Linked DNA regions of Homo sapiens: all the other regions are linked to region 1. Evidence: promoter capture Hi-C in 16 types of primary human blood cells and fetal thymus (Javierre and others, 2016). All regions are on one chromosome and are shown on one strand. Each heading gives the region's core, a stretch centred on a gene start or on the middle of the fragment in contact. The rest is flanking DNA. Distances are from core to core; before and after follow the strand shown. Region 1 holds the start of TSR2 (TSR2 ribosome maturation factor). Region 2 overlaps MAGED2 (MAGE family member D2). Region 3 overlaps FAM120C (family with sequence similarity 120 member C). Region 4 overlaps ITIH6 (inter-alpha-trypsin inhibitor heavy chain family member 6).

What was found. Contacts are between HindIII fragments. The CHiCAGO score rates a contact against its expected background, and 5 or more counts as called.
Region 2: a contact is called between a fragment that was not itself captured here and the fragment with the promoter of TSR2 in region 1, in 1 of 17 cell types (fetal thymus). The highest score is 5.0, in fetal thymus.
Region 3: a contact is called between a fragment that was not itself captured here and the fragment with the promoter of TSR2 in region 1, in 1 of 17 cell types (naive CD8 T cells). The highest score is 5.0, in naive CD8 T cells.
Region 4: a contact is called between a fragment that was not itself captured here and the fragment with the promoter of TSR2 in region 1, in 1 of 17 cell types (fetal thymus). The highest score is 5.2, in fetal thymus.

Annotation. Positions count from the first base shown.
Region 1 is chrX:54,435,921-54,442,847 of GRCh38, forward strand. It overlaps TSR2 (TSR2 ribosome maturation factor), which reads left to right and starts at 4,484. Exons shown (of 5, transcript NM_058163.3): 1 at 4,484-4,582; 2 at 4,770-4,860. The coding sequence starts at 4,502. RefSeq lists an enhancer at 4,202-4,251. The HindIII fragment of the contact is 25,574 bases long and covers 1-5,972 here.
Region 2 is chrX:54,809,861-54,814,782 of GRCh38, forward strand. MAGED2 (MAGE family member D2) reads left to right here. Exons shown (of 13, transcript NM_177433.3): 3 at 1-353; 4 at 961-1,269; 5 at 1,390-1,453; 6 at 1,714-1,793; 7 at 2,297-2,391; 8 at 3,085-3,164; 9 at 3,258-3,300; 10 at 3,628-3,690; 11 at 4,801-4,915. It overlaps SNORA11 (small nucleolar RNA, H/ACA box 11), which reads left to right and starts at 4,510; the gene lies at 4,510-4,640. The HindIII fragment of the contact is 2,769 bases long and covers 1-2,635 here.
Region 3 is chrX:54,175,521-54,181,792 of GRCh38, forward strand. The region is part of intron 1 of FAM120C (family with sequence similarity 120 member C); the gene reads right to left. Among named protein-coding and RNA genes, the nearest start is that of FAM120C, 4.6 kb to the right of the region's middle. The HindIII fragment of the contact is 526 bases long and covers 3,097-3,622 here.
Region 4 is chrX:54,790,247-54,796,787 of GRCh38, forward strand. It overlaps ITIH6 (inter-alpha-trypsin inhibitor heavy chain family member 6), which reads right to left. Exons shown (of 13, transcript NM_198510.3): 3 at 1,680-1,790; 4 at 591-838. Among named protein-coding and RNA genes, the nearest start is that of ITIH6, 4.7 kb to the right of the region's middle. The HindIII fragment of the contact is 6,722 bases long and covers 1-4,639 here.

The DNA.
Region 1 (6,927 bases), core at 3,234-5,733:
CTAAAATACTAATAATAAAAAATTTTACTCAACTGAATTGAAATCAATTGAATTCTTTGTGTTCTCTCTAGAAAATATAAAATACTTGTCATATGAAGAGTTCTATAAACTCTTTGATATCAAAAAATGTAGAAAAATTAGTAGAGAGGTGAGTCATGTAATTAATAAGAATATTTTATTTTGGCAGGGCGTGGTGGCTCATGCCTGTAATCCCAGCACTTTGGGATGCTGAGGCAGGCGGCTCACCTGAGGTCAGGAGTTTGAGACCAGCCTGGCCAACATGGTGAAACCTTGCATCTACAAAACAAAAACAAAACAACAAAGTAATATTTTATTTTTCTGGGTTAGAAGATGTTTGTGACATTTGTCAGTTTTTAAAAATTTGTAATTTGTAAATTAGATTTCTAATTTTAAGGAAATACTTTCATCAATAAATCAACAAATAAGTAAAGTGTACAATTCAATGGCTTTTAGTATAGTTTCTTCTGATTTGCTCCTTGGCTTTCTCCTTAGCTTTCTCACTGTGTGTTCACATAGTTGTCCCTGTGTGTACACCTCTCTGGTGTCCCTCTTTGCCTGTGTCCTCATCTCCTCTTATTATTATATTTTGTTGTTTTTTGTTTTTGAGACAGGGCTTGTTCTGTCACTCATGCTGGAGTGCAGTGGTACAATCATGGCTCACGGCAGCCTCAACCTCCTGGACTCAAGTGATCCTCCCTCCTCAGTCTCCTGAGTAGCTGGGACTACAGCCATCACACTCAGCTAATTAAAAAAAAAATTTTTTTGTAGAGATGGGGGGTCTTGCTTTGTTGCCCAGGATGGTCTCGAACTCCTGGCCTCAAGTGATCTGAGCCATTGCACCGAGTTCTAATCTCCCCTTCTTTATAAGGACATCAGTCATAACGGATTAGGGCCCACCCATGCAACCTCATTTTATCTTAATTACCTTTTTAAAGGCTCTATCTCCCAATACAGTCACATTCTGAGGTACTGGGGGTTAGGGTTTCTACATATGAATTTGGGGGGTGGTGGATACAATTTAGCTCATAACAGCAACCATTACCTCGTCTAATTTTTAGAACATTTTCGACACCCCCAAAAGTAGCCCTGAAGCCATTTAGAAGTCACACTCTATTCTTTCCCCATCCAAGCCCTGGGCAACCATTCATGTATTTTCTGTCTCTATAGATTTACCTATTCTGTATATTTCATATAAATGGTATCATACAATATGTGGTCTTTTTTGACTGGTCGGTAATTATACGTCCTCTTTCGTTCCTGATTTCAGTAATTTGAGTCTTCTTTCTTTTATTTCTTCCTCAGTCTAGCTAAGGGTTTGTAAATTTTGTTGATCTTTTCAAATAACTGACTTGGCCAGTTGCATTTGCTCACACCTGTAATCCCAGCATTTTGAGAGGCGAGGCAGGTGGATCGCTTGAAACCAGGAGTTCAAGACCAGCCTGGGCAACAAAGTGAGACACCCCCTCCCAACACACACACACACACACACACACACACACACACACACACACACAACCACACACACACACACACACACACACTAGCCAGGCATGGTGGCCTATTCCTGTAGTCCCAGCTAATCAGGAGGCAGAGGCAGGAGGATCCTTTGAGCCCAGGAGTTTGAGGCTGCAGTGAGCAATGTTTGTGCCACTGCATTCCAGCCTGGGCAACAAAAAAAGACTTCATCTCTGAAAAAAAAATAACCGCCCAGGTCCGGTGGCTCACGCCTGTAATCCAAACACTTGGGAAGGCTGAGGTGGGCAGCTCACTTGAGGTCAGGAGTTCAAGACCAGCCTGGCCAACATGGTGAAACCCTGTCTCTACTAAAAATACAAAAATTAACGGGGCATGGTGGCATATGCCTGTAATCCCAGCTACTCTGGAGGCTGAGGCAGGAGACTCCTTTGAACCTGGGAGGCAGAGGTTGTAGTGAGCTGAGATTGCACCACTGCACTTCAGCCTGGGTGACAGCACCAGACTCCATCTCAAAACAAACAAACAAACAAACAAAAAACAACAACTGACTTTTGGCTTCACTGTTTTTTCTTTTCTCTATTGTTTTTCAATTCTCTATTTCATTTATTTCTGTTCTATTATTTATTATTTCCTTTCTTATGCTTGCCTTGGGATTACTTTGCTCTTCTTTTTCTGGTTTTGTGAAGTGGAAGTGTAGGTTATTAATTTGATATCATTCTTTCATTTTTTATTTTTTTGAGACAGGGTCTTGCTCTGTCCCCCATGCTGGAGTGCAGTGGCACAATCACGGCTCACTGCAGCCTTGAGCTCCCAGGCTCAAGCAATCCTCCCACCTCAGCCTCCTGAGTGGCTGGTACTACACGCATATGCCACTATGCCCATCTAATTTTGTTTGTTCGTTTGTTTGTTTGAGACAGAGTCTCACTGTGTCGCCCAGGCTGGAGTGCAGTGGAGTGATCTCAGCTCACTGCAACCTCTGCCTACCGGGTTCAAGCGATTCTCGTGCTTCAGCCTCCCAAGTAGCTGGGATTACAGGTGTGTGTCACCATGCCTGGCTAACTTTTGCATTTTTAGTAGAGACAGGGTTTGTTCATATTGACCATGCTGGTCTCAAACTCCTGACCTCAGGTGATCTGCCCACCCAAAGTGCGGGAATTATAGGTGTGAGCCACCATGCCTGGCCTAGTTTTCAAATTTATTTATTTATTTAGTTTGAGACAGAGTCTCACTCTGTTTCCCAGGCTGGAGTGCAATGGCACCATCTCGGCTCACTGTAACCTCCGCCTCCCGGGTTCAAGCCATTCTCCTGCCTCAGCCTCCCAAGTAGCTGGGATTACAGGTGCTTGCCACCAGACCTGGCTAATTTTTGTATTTTTAGTAGAGACGGGGTTTCACCATCTTGGCCAGGCTGGTCTCGAACTCCTGACCTCAAGTGATCTGCCTGCCTTGGCCTCCCAAAGTGCTGTGATTACAAGCGTGAGCCACCACACCTGGCCTAATTTTTAAAATTGTTTTTAGAGATGGGGTCTCACTATGTTGCCCAGGCTGGTCTTGAACTCCTGAGCTCAAGCCATCCTCCCGCATCAACCTCCCAAAGTGCTATGATTACAGGCATGAGCCACCATGTCCGGCTCTTCTTTTTAGATATGCATGTTTACAGCTAAAGATTTCCCTCTAAGTTTTGCTTTAGCTGCATCTCATGCATTTTTTTATGTTTTTGTTTTCATTCATTTAAAAGTGTTTTCTAATTTGCTTTGTGATTTTTTTCTTTGACCCATTTATTGCTTAGGAGTGTGTTAATTTCCATATATTTGTGAATTTTGTAAGTTTCTTTTTACTGATTTTTAACTTCTTTCCATTGTGGTCAGACAACATACTTTGTATGTTCAATCCTGTTAAATCTATGGAGGCCTACTGTATGGCCTAGTGTATGATCTGTTCTGGAGAATGTTCTTGTGTACTTCAGAAAAACATGTACAGTTATCCCTGGGTATCCGTGGGAGACTGGTTCCACGACCTCCGGAGGATACCAAAATTCATAGATGCTCAAGTCCCTGATATAAAATGGCATAGTATTTGCGTATAACCTATGAATATTCTACTGTATACTTTAAATCATTTCCAGATGTGACTCACGCCTATAATCCCAGCAATTTGGGAGGCTGAGGCAAGTGGATTAAACCCAGGAGTTCGAGACCAGCCTGGGCAACATGGCGAAACCCTGTCTCTACTAAAAACACAAAAATTAGCTGGGAGTGGTGGTGGGCACCTGTAATCTCAGGTACTCGGGAGGCTGAGGCACGAGAATTGCTTGAAACCAGGAGACGGAGGTTGCAGTCAGCCGAGATGGCGCCACTGCACTCCAGCCTGGGCCACAGAGTGACACTCGGTCTCAAAAAAATAGATAAATAAATAATTTCCAGGTTACTTATAATGCCTAATAAAGTGTAAATGCTATGTATATAGCTGTTATACTGTACTGTTTAGGAGAATAATGTCAAGAAAAAAAGTATACACATGTTCAATGCAGATGCAATTTTTTCCTGAATATTTTCCATCTGAGGTTAGTTGAATTCACGGACGTGGACTGCCCCCCATAGGGAGAGCTGATTGTATTTTACTGTTGTTGGTTGCAGTATTCTATACAGATGTTAGGATGCTTTTTTTAAATGCAGATTTTTAAGGCTATACTCACTGAGTCCTCTGCCCCAGGGCCTGGAATCTGTATCTGTAATAAGTTCCCCACATATTTCCTCCGCAGTACCCACGGATCCGGAAACCATGGCCCCACACGTCCTTCAGGTCTGGTGTCCTTTGATTTAAGTGAGTAACTCTGGTGGTGTCATCGATCGCTCTGACAGATTTTTCTTTTGCTCTAGTCTTGCTGCCAGGTCTGCGGAAAAGAGAATCCTGTGTTCTCAGGCTCGGCTTGCGTCTCGTTCTGCCTGGGCCGAGCTACAGAGGGATTGGGCCGCCGGGACGTCACGTGGACTGGGGCCGGATAATGGCGGGCGCTGCAGAAGATGCGCGAGCTCTTTTCCGGGCTGGGGTCTGCGCGGCCCTGGAGGCCTGGCCGGCCTTGCAGGTCAGTGGGGCCAGGGCCAGGGCAAGGTCAAGGTTAGGGCCCGGGGCAGAACAGGAGTTGGTTGGGCTAGGTGCCTGAGGCTTGGCTAGGCGGCATAAGAGGAGTTGGCTGGGCGGCGTAAGCGGCCTCCAGGCTACTCCAGGTCTGCTCCCAAGCTGACTTGGTGGGCTTGGACCTGTGTTTACAGATCGCTGTGGAGAATGGCTTCGGGGGTGTGCACAGCCAGGAGAAGGCCAAGTGGCTGGGGGGTGCAGTGGAGGATTACTTCATGCGCAATGGTGAGTGAATGTGAGGCGCCGCGACCCGCCTGTGTGGGGGTGTGGAGAGGAGGAGCCCCATCCCGCAGAGCCTGCATTTCCTCTCGAGCAGTTGTGGATTGGTACCTAAAGGTGAGGTGGAATGAATTCAGCTTTTAGAATCAGAATCCTGGATTCCAGTGCTTTACGGGCTGTACCACTGACTCGTGGGATTACTCTGGACAAGGCAGTTTACCTCCCTGAGACTCAGTTTCCTAGTTTCTAAAATGCGTATAAAAGTATCCACCAGAGCGCTGTACAGTAGAAATATTATGCTAGTCACATATAATTTAAAATTTTTTAGTAGCCACTTTAATAAAGCAAAAAGCAGATGAAATCAATGTTAGTAAACTCGGTGTGTATGAAATATTTCAACATGTAGTCAGTATAAAACATTGAGATATTTTACATTTTTTAGTATTAAGTTTTCAAAATCTGGTATTTTACAGTTTTAGCACATTTCGATTTGGCCTAGCCATATTTCAAGTGCTCAGTAACCACCTGTGGCTGTTTGGACAGCAAAGATCTACACTGTAGGCTCGTCTTGAGGGATATACAAGAACAAGAGGCCCAGTAGAGGGCCTGTTGCATAGTATGGTTTTTAAAAAAATCTTCATTCAATTTCTAGCTTTGGAGATGACATTAGGCAGAGTCATCTCTCTCAAGAAAGTATACTATCCATTGAGGATCCACACACGTAAATAGTTACAACATTGATAGATTTTCTGATAAAGAGGAGCTCAGGGTGCATGGGGTAACAGGATGGGGAGACAGCTTCTTAGTGGAGGTGGTGAATTGGGCTGGGTCTTAGTGAGAAGGAGTTAACTAGGTGGGGGAAGCAGAGAGAGCAACACTCAAGTTCTGTGGCATGAGGGTATAATGTGTTATATTTGGAAAGTAGCAGGGAGCTCAGTATTGGAGTATGGGCGTGTGTGCGTGGGGGGTGGAGGAGTGGTAGAGAATGAAGCTGGGGTGTGGGAAGCCCCCTTGAAAAGCATAAGACATGGAAGCCCTTATGTGCCTTTGATTTTATCATTTAGGCCAGTGTTTGCCAAAATTCATGCTAACTAGTTCTGTTAGATGTTCAGTGAAGAAGCTTCTCCAGTTACCTTATGTAAGAAAAACTCTTGTTCTGCTCCCACTGAAAAGTCTTAACACTCATGAACATATTAAAGGCTTGGGTAAGAATAAGAACCACTAAAAAACCTGTTTGCTTTTGTTTCTCATTAGCTTTCTATGGATAGTGTCCCTTAAGACCCAGCAGAACAGATATTTCTCAAAGGCAAACTGTGAAACACTGCAGTGGCTGGTAAAAATTCGTGGGCAGGTTCTAGGGTGAGAAATAGGATGGGATTTGCTGGCTAGAAAGTTCAGGAAATAATCAGTATGAAGCATAACCTGGAGAGGGAAAGACTGATGAGAACGCTGTTTTTGTCTAGAAACTGATGAGGCCTGAAGTAGGACAGTGGCAACAGGCATGGAAAAGAAGGGGTGGAATAGGGCCTTGGAGATTGGTTGGCTGTAGACAGGGAGGGAAAAAGAGGCAAGTTCCTGGTTTGAGTTGATGGGTGGATTAGGTGTCTTTTCTCGGAGTAGAGGAACCCTGGAGGATGCGAAGCAGGTTTAAAGAGTAAGGTGATGAGTCTGGCTTTAGATATGGAAGATCTGCGGCATCTGTGAAACGTCCAGGCACAGAGTAGTCTCAGTTGGAGATAAATTCGGGGGATATTAAGTTTGAGTGGTAGGGAAAGCCAAGAGTGTGGATGAGCTCTCCCAGAGAAAGCACATAGAGGGGAGAGGGCTAGGAGCTTTGTGGGAGACTTTCTTGAGTTACTGTCTAATTCAGAAAAAGTAGAGCATAGGCCCATAGGTAACTGAAGCCCAGAGAGGAAGGTGGCTCAGTCAGAGTCACACAGTAGGATGTCAGTGTCAAGGCTATGATGATTTCATCATTGGAATTACTATGTCCATTTCTTCTTAACTATCCCATTGGTCTGTGGCTTCTTTTATCAGTGGAACCACAGTTGTGAAGGTTCTCTTCACTTCAAA
Region 2 (4,922 bases), core at 1-2,500, 370 kb after region 1:
GGGTCTCAAAGGCCACAGAGGTCTCAAAGACCCCAGAGGCTCGGGAGGCACCTGCCACCCAGGCCTCATCTACTACTCAGCTGACTGATACCCAGGTTCTGGCAGCTGAAAACAAGAGTCTAGCAGCTGACACCAAGAAACAGAATGCTGACCCGCAGGCTGTGACAATGCCTGCCACTGAGACCAAAAAGGTCAGCCATGTGGCTGATACAAAGGTCAATACAAAGGCTCAGGAGACTGAGGCTGCACCCTCTCAGGCCCCAGCAGATGAACCTGAGCCTGAGAGTGCAGCTGCCCAGTCTCAGGAGAATCAGGATACTCGGCCCAAGGTCAAAGCCAAGAAAGCCCGAAAGGTAAGACCTCTGCAGTCACCACCCTTGGTTTTCTACTCCTCTCTCAGTTGATTCATTTGTTCTACAAACATTTAGAAAGATCCCTGTGCTCATCAGGGCTGTGGGGGGCACTGAGAGTAATGTGATGTAATTCCTGTCTTCAGAGAGCTTGCAGACTGATGGGGAGGTGCAATCTGAATGTAATGCAGTTTATGTTTACATAGTAGCTGCCCTGTATTAGGCCTTGAGCTAAGCACATTTATGCAGGTTATCTCATTAAATCTTGAAAGTAATTCTCATAGCCCCAATTTTATGGAGAAGGAAGCTGAGTTCCAGAGAGGTGAAGCGGCTTGTCTAGGATGGTTCAAGCAGAGCCAGTAGTGGGCACAGAAAGAGAAGAAGACTCAGCCTCCACCCACCCTTGGTTTGCTCCTGGCCTGCTAGGCAGATGAAACACCTGCTTGGAAGTCAGTGAGAAACAAATCCAGGGTTCAGCATGGCCAACATCTATTGAGTCAGGCTGTTACTACAGGGGTGGGATTAGCGGGTGCTTCCTGGAAGAGATAGGGAGAGGAAAAGGACCACTTGCTTCATCTGGTGACGTTGAGCTTCCTCTCTGTTGATGCAGGTGAAGCATCTGGATGGGGAAGAGGATGGCAGCAGTGATCAGAGTCAGGCTTCTGGAACCACAGGTGGCCGAAGGGTCTCAAAGGCCCTAATGGCCTCAATGGCCCGCAGGGCTTCAAGGGGTCCCATAGCCTTTTGGGCCCGCAGGGCATCAAGGACTCGGTTGGCTGCTTGGGCCCGGAGAGCCTTGCTCTCCCTGAGATCACCTAAAGCCCGTAGGGGCAAGGCTCGCCGTAGAGCTGCCAAGCTCCAGTCATCCCAAGAGCCTGAAGCACCACCACCTCGGGATGTGGCCCTTTTGCAAGGGAGGGTAAGAACTCTGTCGTTTTTATTCTGCCTTTTCTACTGCCTTGGCTGTCCTTTTCTTTGCCATCGTCTCAAGTTTTCTGCAAACTTGTTTTGGTCTTTCCATCTTTTTCTACTCTGCCAGGCAAATGATTTGGTGAAGTACCTTTTGGCTAAAGACCAGACGAAGATTCCCATCAAGCGCTCGGGTAAAGTCCTACCAATCCTCCCTCTGCCCTGAGCTCTGCCCTCCATTGCCCTTACACCATTGTGCTGGGGATATCCCCTGCTCTTATGCTTATGTCTCTGTCCTCCCAAAGTTCTGATTTGGCAGTGCTAGCATCTCTGTTGATAAGCACAGAACCGGGTTATGCCACCCTTGGTGTGGTTGGCAAAGAGTCTATAGCTTGGGCATCAGGGCCACCTGGCATCTCTTCAGTCAGGTGCTCACAACACTCTCCCCTTGCAGACATGCTGAAGGACATCATCAAAGAATACACTGATGTGTACCCCGAAATCATTGAACGAGCAGGCTATTCCTTGGAGAAGGTGAAGGGGCAGCCCTGGGGGATGGGCACAGTGGGGAAGCCTTGAATTGAACAAAAATGTACAAGTCCCTTCTCGGGAACCAAAGAGACCTGCTAATCCAGCTCCATCGCTATGCTGAGGGGCAGACAGTGGCCTAGGGAGGGGTGTAGATTAGCGATGGGTCACACAGCAAGTCAATGGTAAAAGTGCAGCTAGGACCCAAGACACCCAACTTAATCCTGGCTTCTGTCCGTCCATGGCAGCTCCTGCCATGTATTTGAGATTTCACCTCTCCCTTTCATTCCCCATTCTCTGTCTCCCTAGAGTCCCACTCACCACAAAGATGATGATGACAATAGTACATTTGCAGCGTGTTTACCGGGTGCCAGGCACTTAGCTATGTACTTTGTGCGTATTATCTCACTGATTTCTCACACATGCGAAACTCCTAGGTACATAGGGAGCTGCAGCATGCCCCGGAAGCTGAATTTTGTCATCTCACAAGCTGTTCTCCCCATCCACAGGTATTTGGGATTCAATTGAAGGAAATTGATAAGAATGACCACTTGTACATTCTTCTCAGCACCTTAGAGCCCACTGATGCAGGCATACTGGGAACGTAAGCTGGGAAAGGGCTGAGGTGTGGGGGGCTTCTGCTTTGGCCATGTGCTGCTACTCCTCCTTTGTCCTACTTCCCCCATCCTCTTAGAGAGTCAGGAAAGACAGGGTCTCAAAAGCCCCGTCCCAGTTCCTATGCATAGTTGGAGCCCTGCTTACAGTGGTGGCACCTGATTATGATTGACTGGAGGGTGTAGGAGCCTGGAGTGGGACATTCCTGCTGTCAGGTTTGCTGTCTCTGTAGAAGCTTCCCAGGAAAGCAGGCCTGTCGTTGCTTGCCTCTTCCTACTGGGTGCCTGGCCTGGCTTTGGCAGAGTGGTTCTCAAGGAGGGCTTCCTGGTGTGGGTGGATCAGGATGCATGAAGCGCAGGAGTGTCAGTGGGGCTGAAGGTTCTGGGACAGAAAGAAGGGACTCACATTGACTGAGTGCTTGTGTTGTACCAGGTTGGCAGCCATTCTTCCATCTTCTTGGAAACCCAGGGAAGGGAAAATATGATTTTTTCTATTTTACTGAAGAGTAGACTGAGGCTTGCAAGTCTAAGTGCCTTGCCAAGGGTGGCATAGAGCTGGAAGCAGAGACTGGGTAGAATTCTGTATCTGAGGAATCTGGGAGAGGCTAGCCTAGTGAGTTGGCTGGTGTGTCTGTTGCAGATGGCTGCTGAACATAAACCTCTCTGTCCTGTTATTTCTCTAGGACTAAGGACTCACCCAAGCTGGGTCTGCTCATGGTGCTTCTTAGCATCATCTTCATGAATGGAAATCGGTCCAGTGAGGGTGAGTGGCTGGGCTTGCAGCTGAATGGGTGGCTGTGGTCTAGATTCCATGTGTTCAATTTCTGTCCCTGTCTCCTCTTGCCTCCCCTCGCAGCTGTCATCTGGGAGGTGCTGCGCAAGTTGGGGCTGCGCCCTGGGTATGATTGGGCTCTCTCAGCGCTTGCTGTCCGTGTTGTCCTTTGGCAAGAGAGGACGGTCCTAGGATTGCATCAGTCTGGTGGTCTGGTGGAGCGGGTGGGGTGCTGGACTGGGTAGAGGGCCCAGGGTTCTGACCTGGGTGGATGATGGGTGAATGGTCCTGAACTCTCTGCTCCCTCTCTCAGTGTCTCTTGGGCTTCTATGGAGCTTCCCTCTTGTGCTGGAAACCTCTTTTCCATCTTGGAAATGCCTCTGCCCACATCTGGGAAGTGCCATAGCCTTGAGTGAATTTATTTGTTTATTTATTTTTCTTTTTCTTCTCTCAGGATACATCATTCACTCTTTGGGGACGTGAAGAAGCTCATCACTGATGAGTTTGTGAAGCAGAAGTAAGTATCTCTGTCTGGTGTTCATGTGTCCCATGCATTTGGCCTATTTCAGAACTGAGTGATAAAGCCGTGGTGCATGGATGCATGTGTCTATGTGTGTATGTATTTGCATATTTGCATGTATGCAGGTGGGATTATTCCTTGGGCGGTGATGGGAAACAGGAGCAGCACATGTTTCCTGATCTGTTACATATACCTCAACATTTGTCTTGAGACCAGTTCTGCAAGGGAGGGATTATCATTACCATCATTGTACGTATGCAGAAACTGAGGTTTAGAGAGGTGAAGTCATTTGGTCAGGGTTACACAGGTAGCAAGTAGAAGAGTTATGTTTAGAACTTGGCTCCAAAGCCTTAGTTCTTTTTATTCTGCTAACTAGAGCTTCATAGAAATTAATTTCCGTAAAGAAATGACATAGAATGGTAGCTTCAGGCAACCAGGTACCATGCTGGGGAGTTGACTTGTACATCTCATTTCATTTTCATAACTACCCTGCAGCTGTCATCCCATCCCCGTTTTACAGTTGAGGGACCTGGGGCTCCGAGAAGGGAGATCTGAGCATGGCCCACAGCTGGTATGGGCCTGGAGCCCAGTCCTCTTGAATTTCTGGCCAAAGCTCACCTATCCTTGGTCCTTGGAGGACATGCAAACACTCACACAGCCACACGCATGTGCACACAGAAACACACACAAAGGGTCAGGAATTCAGCATGTGTGAAGCATGCTGCTATTGGCTGTTCTTCCTCTGTAGTCTTTCTGGTCATTTTCTGTGGTGGACCTTTCTGGGCTTGGCCAGGCTGAGGCCAAGACACTTGCAGTGGGGTGTGCTCAGAGCAGGGGGCCCAAAGAATGGCTCCTCTGTTTACAACACACCCAACAGGAATCTGGGGTCATTGTGATGAGGGCGTCAAACTTGTGGCTTCCCTATGAACAAACGTCCCCCAACACCTCTATGTGGCTTCTGGGCAAGACCAGTGGGACAGGGCTCAATATTGGAAGAAAGACTGTAGTAATTAGTGGATGATGTTGCCATCTGGAGCCTGTCCAGTCTATGCATGGGTAGGCCATGAATGGTCTTAGAAATAAAGGCTTTGAACCTCTCTTTCCAAGGTACCTGGACTATGCCAGAGTCCCCAATAGCAATCCCCCTGAATATGAGTTCTTCTGGGGCCTGCGCTCTTACTATGAGACCAGCAAGATGAAAGTCCTCAAGTTTGCCTGCAAGGTAATTG
Region 3 (6,272 bases), core at 2,110-4,609, 260 kb before region 1:
TAATATATACAGGGTCTTAACTCCGTCGCCCAGGCTGCAGTGCATTGGTGCGATCTCAGCTCACTGCAACCTCAACCTCTCAGGCTCAAGCAATCCTCCTGCCTCAGCCTCCCAAGTAGCTGGGACTACAGGTGCGCACCACCATGCCCCGCTACAAGATATTTTAGTCAATATAATAGTAGCTGGCATTTATATGGCATTTACTACATGCCATATGATGTTCCAAGCATATTACTTAAATCATTTAACACTCACAACAAAATTTGTGATGTAGGTATTATTGTTAAACTGAGGCACAGAGCAAGTAACTTGCCTAAGCTTACATAATGAGTACTTAGAAGAATAGGGATCTAAACCCAGGCAGTCTGGCTCCAAGGCCTGTGTTGTCAGCCATTATGCTACACAAACTAAATATAGGAAAAAATGTTCTAGAAAAAGTTATTAAAATATAACTATAAAAACGCAATTATACTGTTTTGAGATATGTTAAAGATGAAGGATTTTGGTGTCAAATATCTTTAGGTCCAAATCTTGGTCCAACCATGTTCTAGCAGTGTATCCTTGGGCCAGTAACTACACTGAGCCTGTTTTTTTGTTTTTTGGTTTTTGGCTATAAAAAGTAGAGATTTAGGCCAGGCGTGGTGGCTCACGCCTGTAATCCCAGCGCTTTGGGTGGCTGATGCAGGCAGATCACCTGAGGTCAGGAGTTCGAAACCAGTCTGGCCAACACGGTGAAACCCCGTCTCTACTAAAAATACAAAAATTAGCTGGGTGTAGTGGCACGCACCTGCAGTCCCAGCTACTTGGGAGGCTGAGGCAGGAGAATTGCTTGAACCCAGGAGGTGGAGGTTGTAATGAGGCAAGATCATGCCACTGTACTCCAATCTGGGCCACAGAGCAAGACTCTGTCTCAAAAAAAAAAAAAAAAAAAGAGATTTAATCTGTCATAGGAGTAGAGGAAAAAATAGAGATTAATACCTCTCCTGTTGGGTGGTTGTGAGGATTAAATGAATATTGGTGAGGTACCTCGCCCATGTGGTAGCTATTATTACTACCATCAAAGGGGAATATATTCTATAAGTGCATTGCTAAGTAGCTACAAAACTTCTGAGTAAAAGGAGTTTGGCAATTCAGTTTGCAATCTGAGTTTATTTAGATGGAATTAACATATAACATTGTATAGCACTGATTCTAAATTCTTCATCTGACCTGTAAAGCCCTCTGTAGTGATTCAGTCAGTAAAGGCAAATCAACCAATCTCTCTCACGGCAAACATTATTTTATATATGTCAAGTCCTAGAGCAAATCTCCGCCCTCTTAGAACTCATTTAAAAGAGAATTATGCGATATGAAAATACTATGAAAGAGAAAAAAATATGAGAGAGGTAAGAACAGAGTACTCTGGTAGTAAAGGGAAGGCTTCATCTACCACAGCTGACAGAGGCTGGCTAGGAAAGATTCTATAGGATAACTTTTGAGCAGGAATAAGGGGGAATTTGCTATGCAAAGGTCAAGATAAACATAAGAAAAATACTATGAGAGAGGACACGGTATGTCTAGGAAACTAAGAAAATATAGAATGGTTGGAACAGGGGTGGCCAGAGGTGAGCACCAGGTAAGTCTGGAGAGAGTTTGGGATCAGATTGTGAAGGGCGCTGTCTGCCATGCTGAGAAGTTTGGACTCGGTAGGGTGGGCAAATACACCTTTGGGCATATAACAGAGTCAGCTTCTGTTTTCAGAATCGTGTCTCTGGCAGCAATATGGCAGATGGAGTCCGGAGAGTGTTATGGTAAAGGAACAAGTTGACACTGTCTTCCTGGTTCAGGTAAGAAATTTTGGCAGCCTGAACTAAAGCAATGGGGGTGGAAACAGACAGAAGTAGCTGGACTCAGGAGACATTTCTGACGTAGAACTCAAAGGATCCGATGACCAAGTAAATGTGGGAAGTGACAGGAGAGTGAAGAATTGAGGACTCCACAGCTTCTGGCTTGAAACTGATGAAAGACACCATTCATAGAAAAAGAGAGTACCAGAAGTGAAACAAGTTTTGGGGAAACATAATGAGTTCCATTTTGGGTATTTTTTAGTTTAAGTGACCTAAAAGACATCAAGTAGTAGAGAGCTGAAAAGATGTGTTGAAAGCTCATGAGAGAGGTCGAGGGTAGAGACAGAGCAATAGGAATCATCAGAATTTAATTAATACTTAAAGCCACAATAATGGATGAGATTGCTCAGGAAACAAAAGCAGAAGAATATGACTAGGACAGAAGCCTTGAGGGCACCAACATTTAAAGAAGCAGGCAGAAGAGGAATAAGGAAAAGAGAAGAAAGAACTAGAGGGTTACAAGGAGAATCAGAAGTGAGCTGAATTATGAAATCCAAGGAAGATAGTTCAAGAATAGGATGGCTTGATATTAATGATCTTAAAGAGGACCAAGAAAGGCTAAGAATGGAAATGCATGTGGCAGCTTCAGAGTGGTGACATCAGATATAAAGTAGCACTAGGCTAGGGAATGGGAATTAATACAATCTGCTTCTTTAAGAATAATGGTGAATAGGGAAGAAAGGAGATAAAGATAATGGCTCGAAGGAATTAGAAAATAAAGGGGAAGTTTTTGTTTTTCAAAGATTATTTGTGCATGCTGTAAGTGAAAGAAACCAGAGAGGCAGAGACTGAAACTGTAGAAAGGACAGGGATTACTACTTTTGAATTCCTATAACATCACTGTATGACTCACTTACTTGGCACTTAGCTTACACATTTGCCTTGTACTGGCAGTATTGTACATTTAGCAATGCTGGCACAAACTAAGTGCTCAAAAAATCTACTTATGATTGTCTTCTATGCATATTGTCTAGCCAATAACAGTGTACGATCATACACAAGAATGTATAAAATGAAGGAAACAGGATGGTGGGATTGTGTAAACTTTGAGCAATATAAACCTAGAACAATAATTTTTATCCACCACTTACTAGTACTTAGAACAAAGAAAAATTATTTTACCTCTTGGTTACCTCAGTTACTCAACTGTAAAATGGGGAGAATACCATGCACCTTGCAAGCTCTTGAGGATTAAATGAGATATTTTAAAAGCTTTTAATATACAACTTGTTGCCTAAGAAGTAATTATTATTTTGATTATTTTCCAACGACTAGAGCATCTAGAAAAGTCAATGACTTTTCAGAATGTCTATGACTAATGGTAAGTAAACAATCAGGAGGCATAGCAGCCATTGCTTTATCGTATTCTAGAGAACCAAAGCACAAAATGGTATCTGTTCTCAAAGTCTGGTTATTCATATGCCACCAACATGATTTCTGCCATATCCACGTACTGCAACTTAATAGCTTTCTTTAAATCAACTCATTTTATGTAATCATAATCATTCTAAAAAAGTATAGCTGTGAAATGGTGAGTCTGATGTGCTGATCATTTTTTTCTAATTACACAGTAACCATTAAAACAAAGCATTCATTCCCTTAATCACCCTAAATTATCTCCTGAATCACAATCTAAAACTGCTTTAGGTTGCTTTATTTCTGAGACCCTTAGGAAGCAATCAGGCAAGCAATTTGTGGGTTTACTTAATTTTCCTTCTACTGATTATCATTTACAAAGCTTTGCAGAGCATATAAATGAAACCAACCAAATCAAAAAATTCATCCCAGCAATACACACTGGATCTTTTCATGGGAAGTCCGAAGTTGTCTAAAGCTAAACAGACAACCCAGCAATTTATCTATTATTTAATCCTTCCACCTCTACTTTCTGTATCACAAATGAAAATGAGACTGGGAATAAAGGCCCATCTTGTGGTCTAGCCTGAAGAACAAAACCAAAGAGGGGAGAGATACAGTAGTGGGTTTTGTTCTGAGGCACTGACATTCAGTCAAAAGAAATAGTAGGCATGCAGATCATCCAAGTGAAAAATTCCCACCTTCAAGACAGTAGAACACTCCTCTGAAAAGGGAAACCACAATCGGTTATTAATCAATACTTTCAAGTCTGTGCTACAATCCAGGGAGTTCTTTATCACTCCAGTAACAACAAAAAAGTCACTGACCAGAACCGAGAGAGAACTTCACTCATTAGTAACATCGACAGACACTTTAGATATGCAATTTTGGAGCTGGTCTTAAATCCATTATATTAAGAGCCACACTACACTCTTAAAAAGTCACTTCTACAATCCATTCTCTTAGGATCATTGACCTATTCACTATGGAAAAAAACAATGTACCCTGCACCCAAAGTACACAGGACATTATGGAGAATACAAAAAGATCAGAGTTTGTTTATAATCTAGCACAGGGAATAAGATTTATACATTCCCCAAGAGTGCTTCTAAGGACTAAAGAGGACTGCTGGGAATTTTTCCCCAACATTTTATTATGAAAAACTTCAAACACATGGCAAAGTTGAGATAATTTTACAGTGAACATCTGAATACCCGTGACTGAGATTCTACTATTTTTACTATACCTGATTTATCACATATCCATCTATTCAATCCATCTTTTTTATTAACTGCTGGGATTTTAAAAATGAGACTGTGTAGTGAAGTATGACAAAAATATACTAAGGGCTGCTTCTCTAAAGATTTTGACTGATGGGGTATATAAACAAAAAAAACTTTGGAAACCACAAACCCATACTCAAGTGTTCAACTCTCCTGCCAACCTCCAATCAAAATCTATTCAGAGCTCATAACTGGCTATTCGGGTCTCCACACCCTTGTCCGCTATCTGAACTATCTACAGCCCTCTTCATGGCTTAGCACCATCGGTGAAGCCTTCCCCAACTTTCACTCCCTTACTCAAAATTAACCATGCCCCCTATAGGGGCCACATTTTTCATCACTTGCAATTAGCCCACAGTATCTGCAATTTATTATCTCTTTCACTAAACCTTGTCCTCCTTGAGGACGGGATCCCCTTATTTACCTCTCAGTCCTCAGCAAGCAGCTAGTACTTAGCCTACAGCAAGCACTCAAATAAAAAAGTAAGTGAATGACCTGAACACGTCTTTACCCAGGAGCCAAGGAAGAGTTTAGCTGAGTGGGGAAATGATCTAATCACAGTGGCACTTTAGAAAGATTCATTTTAGAGCAGCACTGTTGTTTAGAGTATGAGCTTTGGAGGAAGACCACATAGGCACAAATCTCAGCCCTGCCACTTATCTCTGGGTGACTTTGGGCAAGTTTCTAAGCCCGTGCCTCAGTTTCCTCATTTGGAAAACAGGGATAATACTGCTTTCATAGGTTATTGCGAGGATGATGAGGTAATTTTTTTTAAAAGAAGTGCACAGATCGACACCTAAAACATAGTAAATATTCCATCAATGTGGTCACTATTGCCAGCAACCAGGTTAATAACAACGAGGTTAAAAAGTCCTTAAAAGCCTGGGTGGTAGCAGTGAAAACAAAGTGGAAAGAATGGCCATGAATAAAGAATCTACCTTAAAATGTTCAGTCAGAAGAGCAAGCAAATGTGTGCCTTTTTTTTTTTTTTTAACCTTGTATGAGATAGCTCACGTTTGGATTAGTTTAAATTAAAACAACTATAATCTAGGCACTCTAGGCACAGATTTGATGCTGAGAACGAGTCTAGCATGACTGGACTCTAGCCACAAGCTCTATAACCACTGCAAGCTTCTCTGTTTAGGTCTTTTAGTCTCTGAGCTAAAATTTCTTTCCTCCTCATTACTCCAGCCGACACCACTTCTTAAGTGATTCCCACAATCCCCTGTTCTGTCTAACTGTAAGGACAACCCCCAAGAACCTTGGTTGGGGAAATAGGTTTGCGGTTTCTTTCTACCCAACCCTGTACTACTTTTCTTTTTCTTCTTCCTGCCCACCTCCTTTACTTCCCAAGCCTTGCTATTCTCTACACGTAGGAACTTGAAACCTAAGAGTATGGGAAAGCAACAGAGCAGCAGCAGTGGTGCCAAGAACTGGGGATGCTGCCAAGCTGTTCCCCAGGCCCCATATGCAGTGACCCAACTACATGCAGATTGGACTTAACTGCCTATGGGGCCTTGCACACTTAATATTCCTTTTTGCTTCTGCTCATTTTCTTCCTCCCACTTAAAGCAGCCTCCTCCCAAGCTTGTGACTCATTCAAATCCAATCCACCTTTGAAGACCCAGGTGAGGTCCGACTTCTTCAGGGAAGCCTCCCCTGACCACTTTAGTCCAAAGATATCCCACCACTCCCACATACAGAAAACAGGAACTGTACTTACTGTCTGGACCATAAGGCATAATCA
Region 4 (6,541 bases), core at 29-2,528, 350 kb after region 1:
CCCCCATGCTACTGAACCAGACCCTGAAGGCTGGGCTCCAGGAATCTGCATTTCTAGGAGCCCATGTTGTGATTCTGATGTAGCCAGTCTGGGCTTCCAAAACCTCTAGGTGACATTTGAAGCAAACTTCTGAGGCAGGATGCTTCTCTTCCCTCCAGGGCCTGAGATGGTGTCCTCCAGGGAGCCTGCACTTGCTGTGCACTCACTCTCCTGCCATTCTCAGTGGGGATCCAGGGAAAAGCGTGATTTGGCCAGTGTGGCTTCTACAGCCTTCAACATGGTTAACATATGATTTAATTTCATTAGCCCACCCAACAAACCCTCCCTTATCACTGATTTTTTTTTTTTTAGGGAAATCAAGAGTCTGGGAAGTTTCTAATGTGCCAGGTCATATAGCCTGTAAGGACCAGGCCAAGGTTAAAATCCAAATATTTTCACCTTCAAACATGCCCTCTTCTCACTGAATCAGGAAGGAACTTGGCAGTGAGTACAGAGCAGAAGTGGCACTAGAGGGAAACCCAGTGGAATCGATAAGGTTTTCATTCAGTGAAGGCCAGTCTGATGGGTGACCCATAGTGCTGCCCACATACTTGCATGGGCATTGGTGCGCAGACGGCCGGTCCTCAGGGGTGGTATGTGCACATAGGAGATGCCTGTCCTTTCTGACACTGTAACCTCTATGCTCAGCCTCTTCACCAATTGGCCAGGCCTCAGGCTCACCACCAGCTGGTACTGGCCCTGGTGCCGCTGAAGCAGTTCCTCATAGGCCAGGGAAAAAGTCACCTCTGTGCCTGCTGCCAGGCTGGTGGAGATGCGGAACTTCTCTGATTCCCGGTCCCTGGGCAGGAAAGGGAGGATGGTGGGAAGAGAAAGGGACCTTCAGAGGAGTACAGGGGCTGTTAGATGACCTAGTTTTGCTCCCCCCAACCCTGGTCCCAGCCGACCTGACTAGGCTTCTGGTTCAACTGAGTCACTGGCTCATGGTCCGTCATCCATGCATCCACTTATCAGTCTCTCTCTCCCTCCCTCCCTCATTCAGCCTCCTAAATATTCTGCTTGAGAAATTATCTCACAGGTGGTCCACCCTTAAGGGAACTTAGTCCATCAAAATCTGAATATATAACAGACCAACTAGGGTCTAATGATTCATTTTACAAAAGAGTTTTCAATTTACATACAATGCCTCAGCCCCTTCAAATAGACCCTCCTACTATCCTCTCCCCTATGCTTTTGAAGGAGCTTGTTTATATGGCAGTAACTCAGTTTGCTGGAGCCAAAGCTAAAGTGTTTGCTCCATGAAACTCTCTTGGAAGCTGGGAGGAAACACTGAAGGAAGACAATACATTTCTGCCCGCTGAATGGAACTCAGGAAACAAAATTCAATTTAGAAAAATCTCACTTGCATATAACCTTCCTGGAAGGTGCCAATTCTTAAATAAGCCACAATCTGCTGACAGTAGAAAAGTAGAAATGGGGAAGTAAATTTCCATTTATTGAACACCCACCCTGTTACAGGCTTTGATATTCATTAACTCACATCATCTTCACATGATCCTGTGAAGTAGAGGTCATGTCCCCACTCTGCAGAGATGGAGACTGAGGACCAGAGAGAACGTGCATCTCCCCTGATCACACAGCTAAGATGATTAAGTCATGTTTTGGACTGGATGGGGCCTTACCTGATGCCTACATGAGCAGCTGTCTTTCCCTGCTGATGGGCTTCTTCATAGATTTTCTTTGCCTGGTGCTTCTCTTTGACTTCTGCAATGTAGACTTTATTGTTGATGGTCCTAATGGGGCAGGAAAGAGGAGGGACAGTAGAGACAGAGAAAATAAAGAGTTGGTCAGAGACAGAGAAAGAGACACATGAGGTAGAAAGAGGAGGGTAGAGATAGGGAAAGAGAAAGAACAACACAGTGCCATAAAGCCCCAGTGTGAGCGGCAAGAAGAGAAGAAGAGGAAAGGAGAGGGAGATAACAGAGTGAAGTAGTTATCATTATCTCCATTTGTCAGATGGGGAAATAGAGGCCACACAGCATATGGTGGATCTGGTTGTTAGAGTCTTGTGTTTCCCAAAGTGTTGAATGAATTCTACCTTTTGGCACACAGCATAATTTTAGGTACGATATAACCGAATATTTTTATTATAATTGTTATGTATTTACAGTAATGTTTCTTAAATTACAACTAGCACATTAAACCCATGATCTCATAGATATTGTTGCTCAGAATAAAACTAACTCAGATCATCTCAGAAAGTATATCTATTGAAAAAATATATTGGGTAAATAATATGGCCATATTAATATAAAAATATATTAAGTAAATACTGTGGGTGGTAAAAGTGGTAAAAATTGTGAAAGAAGTGTGCAAATTGTTGCAAAGTCTTCTGGGCCTGACTAGGGAGGAGGCCTTGTCCTCAGGGAGCTCAGAGACTGATGAGTTACAAGCAGACTTGCTTACCCCCATTCTCCCCATTTCTCTAAGGAAGGTAATAAAGTGAAAAGAAGCTCAAAGAAGGGAGAGAACACTTTTGCCCAAGTCTTCAGGAAAGGGTCCTAGAGAAGGTAGTCTTGAAGCTAAGCCTGAAAGACAGGGAGGATATGGATAAATAATCCTCACTGGCCATGCCTTCTCAGTTTCCTCTGTTGGCTCTTTCTCTTCCTAACCTCTAAATCTTTGGAACACTCCAAGGCTCTGTTGTCAACCTTTTATCCTCTCCCCTCCCTCCCTCTCCCCTTCTGTCCTCTATTCTTTCTACATTGGCTCTCTAGGTGATGTCATTTAGCACCATGGCCTTAAATACCATTTATATACAGATGCCTCCCAAATATGTATCTCCAGTGTGGACTTGTGCCCTGAACTTCAGACCCATCCAATTTCTTTTTTTTTAAATTTTATTATTATTATACTTTAAGTTTTAGGGTACATGTGCACAATGTGCAGGTTAGTTACATATGGTGGCACATATACATCATGGAATACTATGCAGCCATAAAAATGATGAGTTCATGTCCTTTGTAGGGACATGGATGAAATTGGAAATCATCATTCTCAGTAAACTGTCACAGGAACAAAAAACCAATTTCTTACTTGACATCTCCACTAGGATGTTCCATAGACACCTCAAGCTGAACAGATCCAAAACTGAGCTCCTGACAACTCTCCCCTCCCAAATCTGCTCCTCCTCTGGTATCTTTGTTTCAGGACATAGTTGCTCAGCTAAAAATCTTAGAGTCATGTTGGATTCTCCTCTTTGTTTCACAATCCACATCCAATCCATCAGGGATTTTCAGCTCCATCTTTAGAAGACATCCACAATCTGACTGACTTCTTACCACTTTATTTGCTGCTGTACCCCTGGTGTCTGGAATATGGCTTGGCACAGAGGAGGTGCTCAACAATTATTTGTGGAGTGGACATCCTGGACAGACAGCAGGAAAACACAGAATGTGTTTCAGGGGACAGCAAGTAGTTAAATTTGACTGGAGTGGAGGGGCAGGGAAGGGAGGTATGGAGAGAAAGTTGGGGTGGTTGAGTGGGCCTAGAGAATAGGGGGCTTTGAACACAAGACTCAATGAGCTCATACAGCAGCAAAGACTTTTTGCCGTGGAGAATGGAGAGTCTTGGACAAATCTTGAAAAGGGGAAGGATGGATCAGAGCTGGCCTTTGAGGAGTGATAGTTGGGTGTCCTAGAGAAAGTTAGTGCAACTCTGTAGGACGCAAGTACAACAGTTTCCATTTTACAAGTGGAGTAACTGAGGCACAGGTATCAGGAAGTTGCTTGACCAAGGCAGCAGCTTCCAGGAGCACTGGGGGAAGATAGGCTGGTGGCAGAAGAGACCACTCAGGGAAGAAGTGTTTCTAGGCAGTTGAAACAGAGTATTGCTGTGGCTGGGCTAGTGTGGGGGTGGGCCGAGTTGGCACCTCCCCAAGGTCTCCTGGGGGGTGAGGGGGGTAGGGTGGAGCTGGTCTGGCAGCAGGACACTGGGGCCTCTGTGTGTGTGCTGCCTCCAGCCAGCATACTTTCCACAGAGTCTGCCCAAGAACATTTCCTCCAGCCTGCTTTGCTTAATTTTTTTTAAAAAAATCTGTTGGTGTTTTTTTCAACTGAAGCAAAAATCCAAATTCTGCCTGACTACTTGGCCCTTACATCATTTGACTGCCAGCTTCTCTGGTTAGCCCCCCATAGTCCAAACCCACGCCTGCTCTTTTTGGTCCTTGATTCCCCTGGGTCCCAACATGCAATGATCTTGGTCCCTTCAAATCTTACCCATATGGAAATCCTGCTTTCAGGGAGCCCTCCTTGACTGCCTCAGCACTTCTCCCCCAAATTCCCTGGCTCTGACTCCATACCAATCCCCTCCTCTAACCCAATCCTTCTCCAGGGGAAGTGCCAGGAGGTTCTTGATGGCACAGCCTAGGCCCACCCCAGGGCTGCTGTTTGAGGTTGTACAGATTATTGATGGCACAAGAACCTCCTCCCAACTAACAGGGACAAGCGGGGCTGAACAAGGGTGGATATTCTGCTTGTGCTGGGCTCACTTATCTGGTAAATCTGATAGTCCCTCTACCCAAATCCAGGGGCCTTTTTGTAATTCACACTAAAGTGTGATACTGGCTACTGAGGCCCCACTAAGCTTTCCCTTTATCTGCTCCAGCTCCCTTGTTTATCACCTCAACAGGGTACTGTCATCTACCAGGTCTAACAAGCCGAAAAAAGGTAAACACCATCTATATTTACTTACTCTCCACTACAGTCAGGTTGTTTCTCTTTCGATAGTCTCTCAGATCCACCACCACTGTCCTGCTCCCACCTTCAGCAACTCCTACGTGGATTCTGCCCCTGTTTGCCTACTCAGCTCCTGGCCACCTAGCCGGCCCCTCCAGTCTGCTACCACTTCACAATCACCTCTCCTTGCTTAACACCTTGCCATGTCTCCTTATTATGGCCCACACTTATTTCTAAAGAGGGGTGCACATGTCCCAGGGGATGCTGGAGACAAATCGAAAGGGAGTGGAAAAATAATATTCATACTCTATTTTAGGGCTTTTTCCTTATCCTTTAGGGATTAATATTTATATGCTTCATAATGTACCTAATATATTTGCTCAGCAGTATATTTATATAATGCATAAATGAATAAGTATATATGTTTTGAGAGTATAGGATCAAGTTTTTCCTGATAGGTGTGCAAACACATAAGATGGTTTGGAGACCATTAAGTGAGACCCAAGGAGGTGCTCTAACATTGAAAGTCCTCCACAGCCTAGTCTTTCTCTGCCTCTCACATCTCACTCTTCTACCACTCTTCTACCTCTTGTCTGTCCCTGACAGTACAGTGACACAGAAGTACTTGCAGTTCCCCTAATTAAGGGAACATTTGTGCCTTTATTCCTTTTTCCTGGATTCCTCCAGTCCTGCCCTCACCCTGGTTGCCTGGTGAAGATGTCCTATTTCAAGCCTCAGTTTAGGTGTTATCTCTCTGAGGTTTTCTCCACCAGCCTGGGAATAGGAAACCCACCATTGTCTTCTGGTCCACCTCACCATTCCAACCATTCCACATTCAGACTTCAGTTTTCCCCAGCATACTTTATTAAAGTAATCTGCTCACTGCTCCCCAACCCAATGCTCTTTTTTAGAGACAGTCTCACTCTGTCACCCAGGCTGGAGTGCAGAGATCATAGCACAGTGCAGCCTCAACTTCCCATGTTCAAGCAATCCTCCTGCCTCAGCCTTCTGAGTAGCTGAGACTATAGGCATGCACCACCACACCCTGCTAATTTTTATTTTTTTTCTAAAGATGGGTTCTCCCTATATTGCCCAGGCTAGTCTTGATCTCCTGGCCTCAAGCAATCCTCCCACTTCAGCCTCATGAAGCTCTGGGATTACAGGTGTGAGTCACTGTGCTGGGCCAGTTTCCTTTTTTATATCCCCCCTTAAATTGTGAACTCTCTGAGGCTAGGGACTATATGCAGTTCACCTTCCTCTTTCTGTTGGACTCAGCACAGTGTAAGTCACACACTCAGCACCAGGAAATGTTTGTTTAAAAAGCAATAAAGCTAATATTATCAACTACTTAATATGTGCCTGGAGCTAATTTTAGCATATGTTTCCATGTATATTAGTTCATTTAATCCTTGAAAGTGAGTTCTGGCCGGGTGTGGTGGCTCATGCCTGTAATCCCAGCACTTTGGGAGGCCGAGGTGGGCAGATCACGAGGTCAGAGATTGAGACCATCCTGGCTAACACGGTGAAACCCCGTCTCTACTAAAAGTACAAAAAATTAGCCGGGTGTGGTGGCATGCGCCTGTAGTCCCAGCTACTTGGGAGGCTGAAGTAGGAGAATCGCTTGAACCTGGGAGGTGGATGTTGCAGTGAGCTGAGATTGTGCCACTGCACTCCAGCCTGGGCAACAGAGCGAGACTCCATGTCAAAAAAAAAAAAAAGAAAGAAAGAAAAAAAGAAAGTGGGTTCTAATTTTATCCCCATTTTGTAGATATGTAAAATGAGACTCCCAGAAATGAAGTAACTTGCCC